2 separate regions of the Homo sapiens genome follow, and region 2 is linked to region 1. Evidence: promoter capture Hi-C in 16 types of primary human blood cells and fetal thymus (Javierre and others, 2016). All regions are on one chromosome and are shown on one strand. Each heading gives the region's core, a stretch centred on a gene start or on the middle of the fragment in contact. The rest is flanking DNA. Distances are from core to core; before and after follow the strand shown.

Evidence for each region. The method cuts DNA at HindIII sites, captures the fragments that hold promoters and counts their contacts. A CHiCAGO score of 5 or more calls a contact.
Region 2: a contact is called between the fragment with the promoter of KRTAP2-1 here and the fragment with the promoter of KRTAP17-1 in region 1, in 5 of 17 cell types (M2 macrophages, total B cells, M0 macrophages and 2 more). The highest score is 7.1, in M2 macrophages.

What each region holds. Positions count from the first base shown.
Region 1 is chr17:41,313,052-41,318,746 of GRCh38, reverse strand. It overlaps KRTAP17-1 (keratin associated protein 17-1), which reads left to right and starts at 3,037. Exons shown (of 1, transcript NM_031964.2): 1 at 3,037-3,835. The coding sequence starts at 3,097. The coding sequence ends at 3,414. The HindIII fragment of the contact is 4,540 bases long and covers 1-4,109 here.
Region 2 is chr17:41,044,409-41,050,103 of GRCh38, reverse strand. It overlaps KRTAP2-1 (keratin associated protein 2-1), which reads left to right and starts at 2,788. Exons shown (of 1, transcript NM_001123387.1): 1 at 2,788-3,563. The coding sequence starts at 2,837. The coding sequence ends at 3,223. The HindIII fragment of the contact is 11,978 bases long and covers 1-5,695 here.

The sequences.
Region 1 (5,695 bases), core at 1,788-4,287:
TATGTAAACACAGAAATCATTCAGGATTTCTCCCTCCCAACCTTCATCTGGAGGAGGTGTCTGAGCTTTGAGGGGTGTTATGTTTGAATCAAATGGAAATTTCATAGCCTTCAAGAGGCTGGCAACAGGTTCATGGTGGGAATTTGCTGAAATATACATGGTTCTCTCTTACTCTTGGCCCTATCATCCCTCTCATGGCATCAACCAAGATATTAGAGTTCTTTTAGTCCACAAAAGAACTACATCCTCTACGTCTACATCCTCTCATTACCCCATCCAGGCGGCTAGATGGACCTGGTCATCTGACCACCCACTCTCCTGCATTGCAAAAGTCTACTTTGAATTGTATAAGCTAAGCATTGACCTAAGTCATTCTCTCTGCATTTCTACAGTAATAACCCTACCCTGGGGGCAGTAAATATAAAAAGTCCCTACTGCTGCCCAATTTGTGTGGAAAGACCAACAGTGAAATAAATTGCAGAAGAAAAATAACACCACCATGAGGACTTCAAGTCCTCATCATGACATGTACATTTACACAATTGAAATCATAGTGTATAATTTGAGTTGCACACTGAATGTTGTACTTAATCTGAGTAAATGCTCATGAGTATATGAATTGTTAAATATAAAAGTATGATAATTTATATTTTCAAGTTGTTCAAACAACCAAGTGTTCAATATGTATACATTTATATTTACTCATTTAATCAAAACAGCTCTACGACACTGCTACTATTATTATCCTAATTTCTGTTTTATAGATGAAGAAATTCAGGTACACAGGGGTTAAGTAATTATGGGAGCAGCGAGGGGGTGGGTGAGAGGCAGGAGAACTGAATGGTGAGACATTGGAAGATGAGGAAGACTTTCTACTCTTTTGTACCTTTTATCCTGGGAATGCTTGACCTCTTATTAAAATAAATAAATATGTAAAAGGATGTGTCGGCCGGGTGCAGTGGCTCACGCCTGTAATCCCAGCACTTCGGGAGGCCGAGGCGGGCAGATCACTTGAGGTCAGGAGATCCAGACCAGCCTGTGCGACATGGCGAAACCCTGTCTCTACTAAAAATACAGCAATTAGCTGGGCTTGTTGGTGCGTGCCTGTAATCCCAGGTACTTGGGAGGCTAAGTCAGGAGCATCGTTTGAGCCCAGGAGGCGGAAGTTGCCATGAGCCAAGATCAAGCTACTGCGCTCCAGCCTGGGCAGCAGAGTGAGACTCCATCTCAAAAAAACAAACAAACAAACAAAAAAGGACACGTCTGCCATAGACATTGCTGTATTATACTCACTCAGAGGTGCCCATCTGTGGATGTGGTATGGTGGAAGAAACAGTGGACCAGGAGGGAGAACATCTGGGCCATGGGTCCAATCTACCACGGATGTGTCATCTCTGGGCCTTGGTATCATCTTCTGTAAAACACAAGTGCTTGGCAGTGATGGTCATGATAGGATTAGATTATATCAGTGTTTCCTAATGTAACCCAAGTTACCTGAGAAAGTTTAAAATATATAGCTTCTCAAGCTCTCATAAGCACACATTCTGATTTATCATAAGGACTGGAATACAGTTTGGGAATCTGTATTTTTCAAAAGGCCCCCTTTTAGGCAATTCTGATATAAAACCCTGGACCAGATGATGTTTCAGGGGTTCCTCCCAGCTCTAAAATTCCATATCCTGTGAAGTATTGAGTATCATATCAGATCCAAGTAACTCATTCATCATTTACCCTCCCGACTCCCACCCTGTCCTTAGTTCTTCTAGCCCTTCTTAGAGGCTGTCTTACTTCTAGCCCATCTTACAAAGAAAGGGAAATGAAAAGGGAAGGACTAGATCCCTTGATCCAGATCCTTACTCCCATCCCTCCTTCCATTCCCACCCCACCCCTATCTTCTGTCCTCTACCCCTACTAGATGTTGTATTCCAGCTCCAGGGCTGCCATGGGCACTCCAAGAGGAGAACAAGGTACCAAAGTCCAAGAAAGAGACAGAAATTTTGACCCATCTCAAAATTTACACATGGACCTGAACCATCTGTAGATTTTAGACTCCTTGCAAAGGCATTTTATTCCTTGGGATGACACTCTGGGTATTTTGTATTCTAATTTCTCCTTCTGCCAGATGGTCTATAAGGTTCGAACTCTTAAAAAAAGTGCGTTACATTCCCATTTTAATGTAGCATTTTGGATATTTACTGATCTCCTTCCTGCTTTCTTCTTTCTTTTCTTCTTTCCTTTCTTCCTCCCCTTCTCCTCTTCTTCCTCCTCCTGCATCTCTTCCTTCCCCGGTCAAGGAAAGGCCTGGGGCTGGAGTGGGGGTGGGTAGAGGGTTCTGATCTCAGTTCTTCCCACCTATTTAGAGAGAAGTGCGAATATTCAGCTCACCTTGCCGCCGAGACAGACCATGCCTTACCAGCTTCTTGCAGCTTTACGATGAGTCTCTCTCGGTTTCACAGGGCAGTTATTACTCATGACTGATGCTCACCGGCCAAGCCTAAACGTGTGGCACACTCCCCATACCACACACAGACACAAACATTTGCCTGGCTCACATGAACCGGGATGAGGATGCCATTTCCACCTGGGAGGAGCCACGTGACCAGGCGTTCTCAGTAGCCTCCACTGGTGTCAGGGGGAACAGAGCATTCGGCTGTTGCCGGTCTGCCTTTCCAGGACTAGCATCCATGGAAGATGGGGTCCATCGCCAACCTGCGAAGATGTGGAAGGCAAGCCCCTCATTCCAGAGCCAGAAGCTGTGGCCGGCTTCCCCTTCCCATCTCCAACCTGGGCTAATGACAGCTGGCAGATGCTTGGCCATGATGACAGGTCTTTTCGAAGATGTATTTTTACCCTCTGGATAAACAGCAGTTGGCAGGAGTGGGGCGTTTTTATGAGTTGAGGTACTCAGGACTGGAAAATAAACAGCCAGTTAATGAGCCGGTCTTATGGAAACTTGCATAAATAATAACAAAGAAAACATCCCGTCCCTCATGCCTGGGTGAGGGGATATAAAAGCTGCCATCCAGATGGCTGGCCACCGTCAGTCGTGGGGAACTCCGGCTGCGTTACCGACCTGCGAGCTGACGGGCCCGGACCATGGGGTGCTGCCCGGGGGACTGCTTCACCTGCTGCACCCAGGAGCAAAACTGCTGTGAAGAGTGCTGCTGTCAGCCGGGCTGCTGTGGCTGCTGCGGCTCCTGCTGTGGCTGTGGGGGCTCTGGCTGCGGGGGCTCTGGCTGCGGGGGCAGCTGCTGCGGATCGTCTTGCTGTGGATCTGGCTGCGGAGGCTGTGGAGGCTGCGGAGGCTGCGGGGGTGGCTGCTGTGGATCCAGTTGCTGTGGGTCCAGTTGCTGCGGCTCCGGGTGCTGTGGGCCTGTGTGCTGCCAGCCCACACCTATATGCGACACAAAATGAAGACCTTTCCCTCCACCACTGATGCAGTCCCACCGAAAGCCTCCATCTGCTCCAGGGGGACAGCCCCTCGTGTCCAGAACCTTCCATACCCCCAAGACAGTGTCTTGTCTTTCTGTGATTTGTAGAGGAGGGCTTGTTCTCCAACACCTTCTCTGGTATTTCAAGGCACCGAGAACAAGAGCCATACTCTGATGAAACATTAAAACTCGGTCACAACTAAGTGATCCCAAGCTCAAGGGTGAATCCCCAATACTTTACTTATTCACATGAAGTTCAATGTCTTGTACTATAAGACATCCTCTTCTTCAAGGTGTCTTTGGGACTGATCCTCCGCCCTGGCTTTCTGCAGCTTTGAGATGCAAAAAAGGTCCATCTTCTTTGTGAGCCTCTTAATAAATTTGAGCATGCTGGCATAACCTAATTAGTTCTCTTGCCTCTTCCTTGACCTCCCTGCTGAGGACTGGGTTAGAAAAATTCACTCTGGCATCTGCCTTAGGGTTTTTGAATTGTGGTTTTTGGATCACCTGCGTCGGAATCACCTGGGAGCTTGTTAAAACTGGAGACTCTGAGGCCCTCCCTAAGACATACAGAATCAGAATCCACCAAAGTGTGGCCTGGGAATCTGTGTTTTTAACAAGAACCTTAGATAATTCTTATGCACTGAAGTTTGAGAACCATAGATCTAGACGGAAGCTTCCGTGTGCTGCATGAGATTCACTTGAAAAGCTTTTAAAAATATAGATCATTGGGTTTTATCACTGGAGATTTTACCCGTTAGCTCTAGGGCCTAGAGTCCCTAGGGACCTGCATTTTTAAAAGCTCCTGGGTGAATGCTGATGCTGGCCACATTTAATGGTGATTGAGGGGCATGGCTTTCTTCTGCACTACAGCTCTCCTAGGATGGTTCTGCAGGAGGGCTTCAGGCTTGATCAGAACTTTCTGGCAAAGTCGGAAAGGAGGCTTTGGTAAAACAAGATTGGTTCTGAATGGAAAGGATTTCTAATGGCAAAGCTAGTGAATTCACAGTTTCTGAGGATGTTCTGCGCAGTACAGTTCCTTCTTCCAGCCTCATGCTTGGTCCAGTCTCACTTTTCTGTGCTAGGTTGTCTTACCTGGAACCAGCTACGTTTCTTCTGCCTGAGTTCTAAGGAGGAGGGAGTGAGTATACCTCTGCTAGGTAGGGCCCAGCCAAGGTGTGTGGGTCCACCTGGGAGGTTAAAACTCAAAAGACAGTTGATCAACCTTTTGTTGAAAGTGACCTTAAGCTGTGTGTGTAATAAAACTAATTTTGCTCTTGCCCTGGAAAAATAGTATTTATTTTTATGCCTACAAAGCGATGTTTCATTTGACAAAGAAAAATTTTTTTCTGATTATAAGCATAGCAATGAACTCTAAAAAATGAAAAAATACAGAAACATATAAAGAATATAGCATTCGAAGGCTCACCACTCAGAGTCTATTACTGATAAGCTTTCCAGACTGTTTTCTAAGCATAGTTATGAATAAAACTGGGATTATGTTGCTTTTACCTTTTTCTTTAAAAAATTTTTTTGTTTCATTTTTTATGGTCAACTTTATTGAAATATAATTTACATATAATAAAAAGTTCCCATTTTTAGTGAACAGTATGATGTGATCTGACATTCGTGTATACTTATGTAACCACCACTGCACTCAAGATCTTTATGGAACTTTCCATCACCCCCAAAATTCCCAGTTTGTCTTTGCAGTCAGTTCTTCCCCCACCCCCAGACCCTGGCAACCATCAACCTGTTCTTTATGTTACTACAGATTTCACCATGTCTAGAATTTCATATAAAAGAAATCATGCAGTATGCACTATTTTTCATTTTGCCTATCATGTTTTGTATCTGTTCATTGTTGCAGGTATCAATAATTCATTTTTTTTTCTACTGAATGGCATCCCATTATACAGATAAACTACATTAAAAATATATTCACCTACTTATGGGCATTTGGATTCTTTTGTGTTTCTGGCTATTATGAATGAAGCTGCTATGAGCATTCTCGTACAATTTTTTTTTTTTGGTGAACATATGCTTTGTTTTGGATAAATACTTAGCAATTGGATGGCTGTTTAAATGGTAAGTGAATGCTTAACCTTATGTGAAACTGCCGAGTTGTTTTGCAAAGTGGCCACAGCATTTTGTATTCCAACCAGCAATGTCTGAGAGTTCCAGTGTCTATGTCCTTGGTAACACTTAATATTATCAGTCTTTTTATTTCTAGCCATTCCAGCAGGTGTATAGTGGTAGCTCAT
Region 2 (5,695 bases), core at 1,539-4,038, 270 kb after region 1:
CTCTTATTCCCTGAACAATTGCTGTTATTCTGTTCTTTTTTCAGGGTGCCCACATTTCATATTGCTCAAACAGACATGCTGTACAATTTTTGTAGTTAATGCAATTATTACAGGGTCCTGGAATGATATACATCCTCCTCAACTGACAGGATTAAGAGATTAAAGTAAAGACAGGCATAGGAAATCACAAGGGTATTGATTGGGGAAGTGATAAGTGTCCATGAAATCTTTACAATTTATGTTTAGAGATTTCAGTAAAGACAGGCATAAGAAATTACAAAAGTATTAATTTGAGGAACTAATAAATGTCCATAAAATCTTCACAATCCACGTTCTTCTGTCATGGCTTCAGTCAGTCCCTCCGTTTGGGGTTCCTGACTTCCCGCAACACCATATACATATATAGTATACATACATATATACTGTATACATATATACTATACATATTTTACTATATATGTAATACATATGTATATATACATATATACTATATATATTTTACTATATATATAGTAAAAGGTCATGTTACTATATATGTGTATATATGTGTGTATATATATATTTACTATATATATATATATTTAACAAATACAAGACACTAAGTGCCAGACATTGTTTGTTCTTAGCACTTGACAAATATTAGCTCATGTAATCCTTACAATTCTGATATGAACTATTATTATGGCCCAAGGACACACAGCCAGTAAGTGGCAGAGCTTTAAATGAGCATTGTCCAGTTTCAGAATAAGTGGGGTCAGAAAATAGGATGTGACTTGCCACCAAGTGTCAAACCGCAGAGCTGTCTGTGCTCTTACAACTCTGAGGCATGAATAACTGAAGCATGACCCATATTTTCTCTGCCTGAAAACGAAGTTTGGCTATGGGGTGTGGATAAGTGTCTTAGAGTGAATAAACACTAGAAAGGTTACTGAGTGATGCACAGATTATCTTTTTGGACCTTTATAAAGGGGAGACAGATCCTTATAAAGGGGAGAGACAGATCTTTATAAAGGGGAGAGACAGATCTCTTTAGAATGACCTTGGGTTTGAAGTTTCTGCAGTAGAGAAATGAGTCTTGTTAATGTGATGATTTAAGTCTTCCAAAGAGGCTCCCATTGCATAAAATGTGATTATCATGAAGACTCCACAGCAGCATGAAAATAAATTATGAGATAATATGTCTCGAAAAGAGCAGAATATACAACTTTTTACCTAGTTACCTCTGGTTACCACTTTGAAAAACAAAAATCCCACGTCCGTAAACAAAGAAAAGAATGTAAAACAGGAGAGTCAAAGGTCTCTAGCGATGAGATTGTGCCTGATATCTCCCTCTTCTGTTTCCCTAATTGTGACTACCGGGTCCAGTCAATTTACATTCCTCTTAAAGTTTTGAAATTATGCTTGAAATTCCATTTGGGGAGCTTTAGATGTCCGGCCCCAAGGCACATTCTTTCAAATAAAGAAAATGATCCCGAAGTGATTCAAAACCCTGTCTGGTGACTAACAGGAGGAGTAAAGCTGGAAAGTAATGGGACTGTTTCCCCCATGTAGTTCCTGAACTGCCCCTGGCAACACTTCCTGAAGAAGCGCATCCATCACGCTTTTAGCAGTGCCACAGCAGAACACTGGGCAGCCTCCCAATGCGTCTACCCCTGAACAGTGTTCTGGATATGTGTGCAATGTTGGTTGAAAACCCCTTTCTTGTCACTTGCTAATCAGAGCACCTATGTCAAAGTATATATGCATATTTCTTTTTTGAGATGGAGTCTCACTCTGTAGCCCAAGCTGGAGTGCAATGGCATGATCTCGGCTCACTGCAACCTCCGCCTTTGGGGCTCAAGTGATTCTCGTTCCCCAGCCTCCGGCACAGCTGGGACTACAGGCACTGCCACCACACCCAGCTAATTTTTTGTATTTTATTAGAGTTGAGGTTTCACCATGTTGCCCAGGGTGGTCTTGAACTCCTGAGCTCAGGTGATCCACCTGCCTTGGCCTCCCCAGGTGTTGGGATTACAGGCATGAGCCACTGCGCCCGGCCAACAAGGTATATTCAGAAAAATTTCCCATTACAGAATTCTTCATTACATGCACAAGAAAGGCAACGCTAAAAAATGACATGTTTCAGAGATAAAAATCAGCATCTTATGACAGAAAGACCAGAGTTGCACAGAACCTGAACTAGAGAAAAGAAAACATGCAAGGCAGTCTTGGAGGTTTTATTCCAACACTTAGTGGTTTGCAAAAATTTTTGTCTGTCCTGTACAACTCTATGAGCTGCTATCCTATTCAAGGCCTATGTATCCCACTATATCAAGTGATAATCAAACGTATTCCCAAGCAGACTACGTGGGAGGGCTTGTCTAACACTCGTGTGATTCACGTTTCACATGTAGGTGCTTCCAAGGACTTGAGTCCCCTATTGGGGTCAGGATAGGCTCTACTCAATGTTCTATGTACTTCTCTATGTTTTTAATTTCTTTTAAAAACTGAAGTTTTTTTAGACCGTTTTGTCCAGATTTGATCCAGTGTTATCTACTCAAAATAAGCATCAAGAGCTACTATCACCTCAAATGACGATGAGTTCTTAGATTTTCACCCAATGTGAGTACATCCATACTTAGAGATAAAACAAGAGCTCTTTAGTGAGATAATGAGTGTGTCACAAGCAACCATTAGTCAAAACAAAATTCTACTTAATTGGCCAAAAGGTAAACGAAAAGGGTCACCTGCACCCGGCCAGGGTATATAAAGGGCCCAGAGGGGGAGGAGGACATTCACACCTGAGAACATCCAGCTCCTCTCCACAGCCCAACCCACACCAGCCTCAGACACCACCATGACCGGCTCCTGCTGCGGCTCCACCTTCTCCTCCCTGAGCTACGGGGGAGGCTGCTGCCAGCCCTGCTGCTGCCGCGACCCCTGCTGCTGCCGCCCCGTGACCTGCCAGACCACCGTGTGCCGCCCCGTGACCTGCGTGCCCCGCTGCACGCGCCCCATCTGCGAGCCCTGCCGCCGCCCGGTGTGCTGCGACCCCTGCTCCCTGCAGGAAGGCTGCTGCCGCCCCATCACCTGCTGCCCCTCGTCGTGCACGGCTGTGGTGTGCAGGCCCTGCTGCTGGGCCACCACCTGCTGCCAGCCTGTGTCTGTGCAGTCCCCCTGCTGCCGGCCCCCCTGCGGCCAGCCGACCCCTTGCAGCACCACCTGCAGGACCTCCTCCTGCTGAGCCACCACCTGCTGCCAGCCTGTGTCTGTGCAGTCCCCCTGCGGCCAGCCGACCCCTTGCAGCACCACCTGCAGGACCTCCTCCTGCTGAGCAGTGCACTGACTGCCCGGAACGCGTAACTCACCTTCTGAAAAAGTCACACTCCCATTTCTCTACTTTAACAAACCTCCTGCCCTGAGCCCACAAAACCCCACATCAACCAAGCAGGGAACCGAGCACTGGGCTCATCTATTAAGACCTGGGCCATTCTGAAGTCTGTAAAAGAAGCAATTTCCTTCTTCTTAAGATTTCGTGGCATGTTTATTTTCTAATAAATATCTGTTCTTTGGCCTTGCAAAAAGATTTGGTTTTATTTACTCATTCTAATATTTTGTATTAAATTAATTTTTTAATTAAAAAAACTGACACATAATTGTACATATTTATGGGGTGCAATGTAATGTTTCCATACATGTATACGTTGTGTAATAATCAAGTCAGGGTGTTTAGCATATTCGTCACCTCATACATTTATCATTTCTTCATGGTAAGATCATTTAAAATATTCTCTGATCGCTATTTTGAAATATATGATAAAATATTACTAACCACAGTCACCCTACTGTACATTAGAATACCAAAACTTATCCCTCCTATCTACCTGTAACTTTGTACCTGTAGACCAATCTCTGCCTATCCTCCCCTCCTCTCACCCTCCCCAGCCTCTGGTAGTCACTATTCTACTCTCTACTTCTATGAGATCAACTTCTTTAGATTTCACATAGGAGTGAGTGAATGTGCTATTTGTCTTTCTGTGCCTGGTTAATTTCACTTAACATAATGTCCCCCAGGTTCATCCATGTTGCTGCACATGACAGTATTTCATTCTTTTTCATGGCTGATAGTATTTCATTGTGTGTTTGGGTGTGAGTGTGTGTCACATTTTCTTTATCCATTCATCCATTGATGAACACTTAGATTGTTTTCATATGTTGGCTGTTGTGAATCGTGCTGCAATAAACATGGAAGTGCAGAAATCTCCTCAACATACTGATTTCATTTCCTTTGCGTATATACTCAGTAGTGGGATTCCTGGATCACATGATCGTCCTATTTTTAATTTTTGGGGAACCCTCCATACTGTTTTCCATAATGGCTATACTACTTTACATTCCCTCTAACCTTGTATGAGTTCCCTTTTTTCCACATCCACACCAGCATTTGTTATCTTTTTGTATTTTTGATAATAGCCATTCTAATTGTGGTGATATGGTATCTCATTGCGGTTTTGATTTGCATTTCCTGATGATTAGTGATGCTGAGCACTTCTTCATATATGTGTTGGAAATTTGTATGTTTTCTTTTGTGAAATATCTATTCAGGTCTTTTACCTATTTTTAATTGGATTTTTTATTATTATTCACTGTTGAGTTGTTCAAGTTCCTTATATATTCTAGATATTAACCCCTGGTCAGATGCATAGTTTGAAAATATTTTCTCCCAAATTTTTGCAATCTACTCATCTGACAAAGGGCTAATATCCAGAATCTACAAAGAACTCAAACAAATTTACAAGAAAAAAACAAACAACCCCATCAATAAGTGGGTGAAGGATATGAACAGACACTTCTCAAAAGAAGACATTTATGCAGCCAACAGACACATGAAAAAATGCTCATCATCACTGGCCATCAGAGAAATGCAAATCAAAACCACAATGAGATACCATCTCACACCAGTTAGAATGGTGATCATTAAAAAGTCAGGAAACAACAGGTGCTGGAGAGGATGTGGAGAAATAGGAACACTTTTACACTGTTGGTGGGACTGTAAACTAGTTCAACCATTGTGGAAGACAGTGTGGCGATTCCTCAGGGATCTAGAACTAGAAATACCATTTGACCCAGCCATCCCATTACTGGGTATATACCCAAAGGATTATAAATCATGCTGCTATAAAGATACATGCACATGTATGTTTATTGCAGCACTATTCACAATAGCAAAGACTTGGAACCAACCCAAATGTCCATCAATGATAGATTGGATTAAGAAAATGTGGCACATATACATGGAATACTATGCAGCCATAAAAAATGATGAGTTCATGTCCTTTGTAGGGACATGGATGAAGCTGGAAACCATCATTCTCAGCAAACTATCACAAGGACAGAAAACCAAACACCGCATGTTCTCACTCATAGGTGGGAATTGAACAATGAGAACACTTGGACACAGGAGGGGGAACATCACACACCGGGGACTGTTGTGTGGTGGGGGGAGGGGGGAGGGATAGCATTAGGAGATATACCTAATGTAAATGATGAGTTAATGGGTGCAGCACACCAACATGGCACACGTATACATATGTAACAAACCTGCACGTTGTGCACATGTACCCTAGAACTTAAAAGTATAATAAAAAAAAAAGTACCAAAAAAGAAAATATTTTCTCCCATTCTCTAGGCTGTCTCTTCACTCTGCTGATTTGAT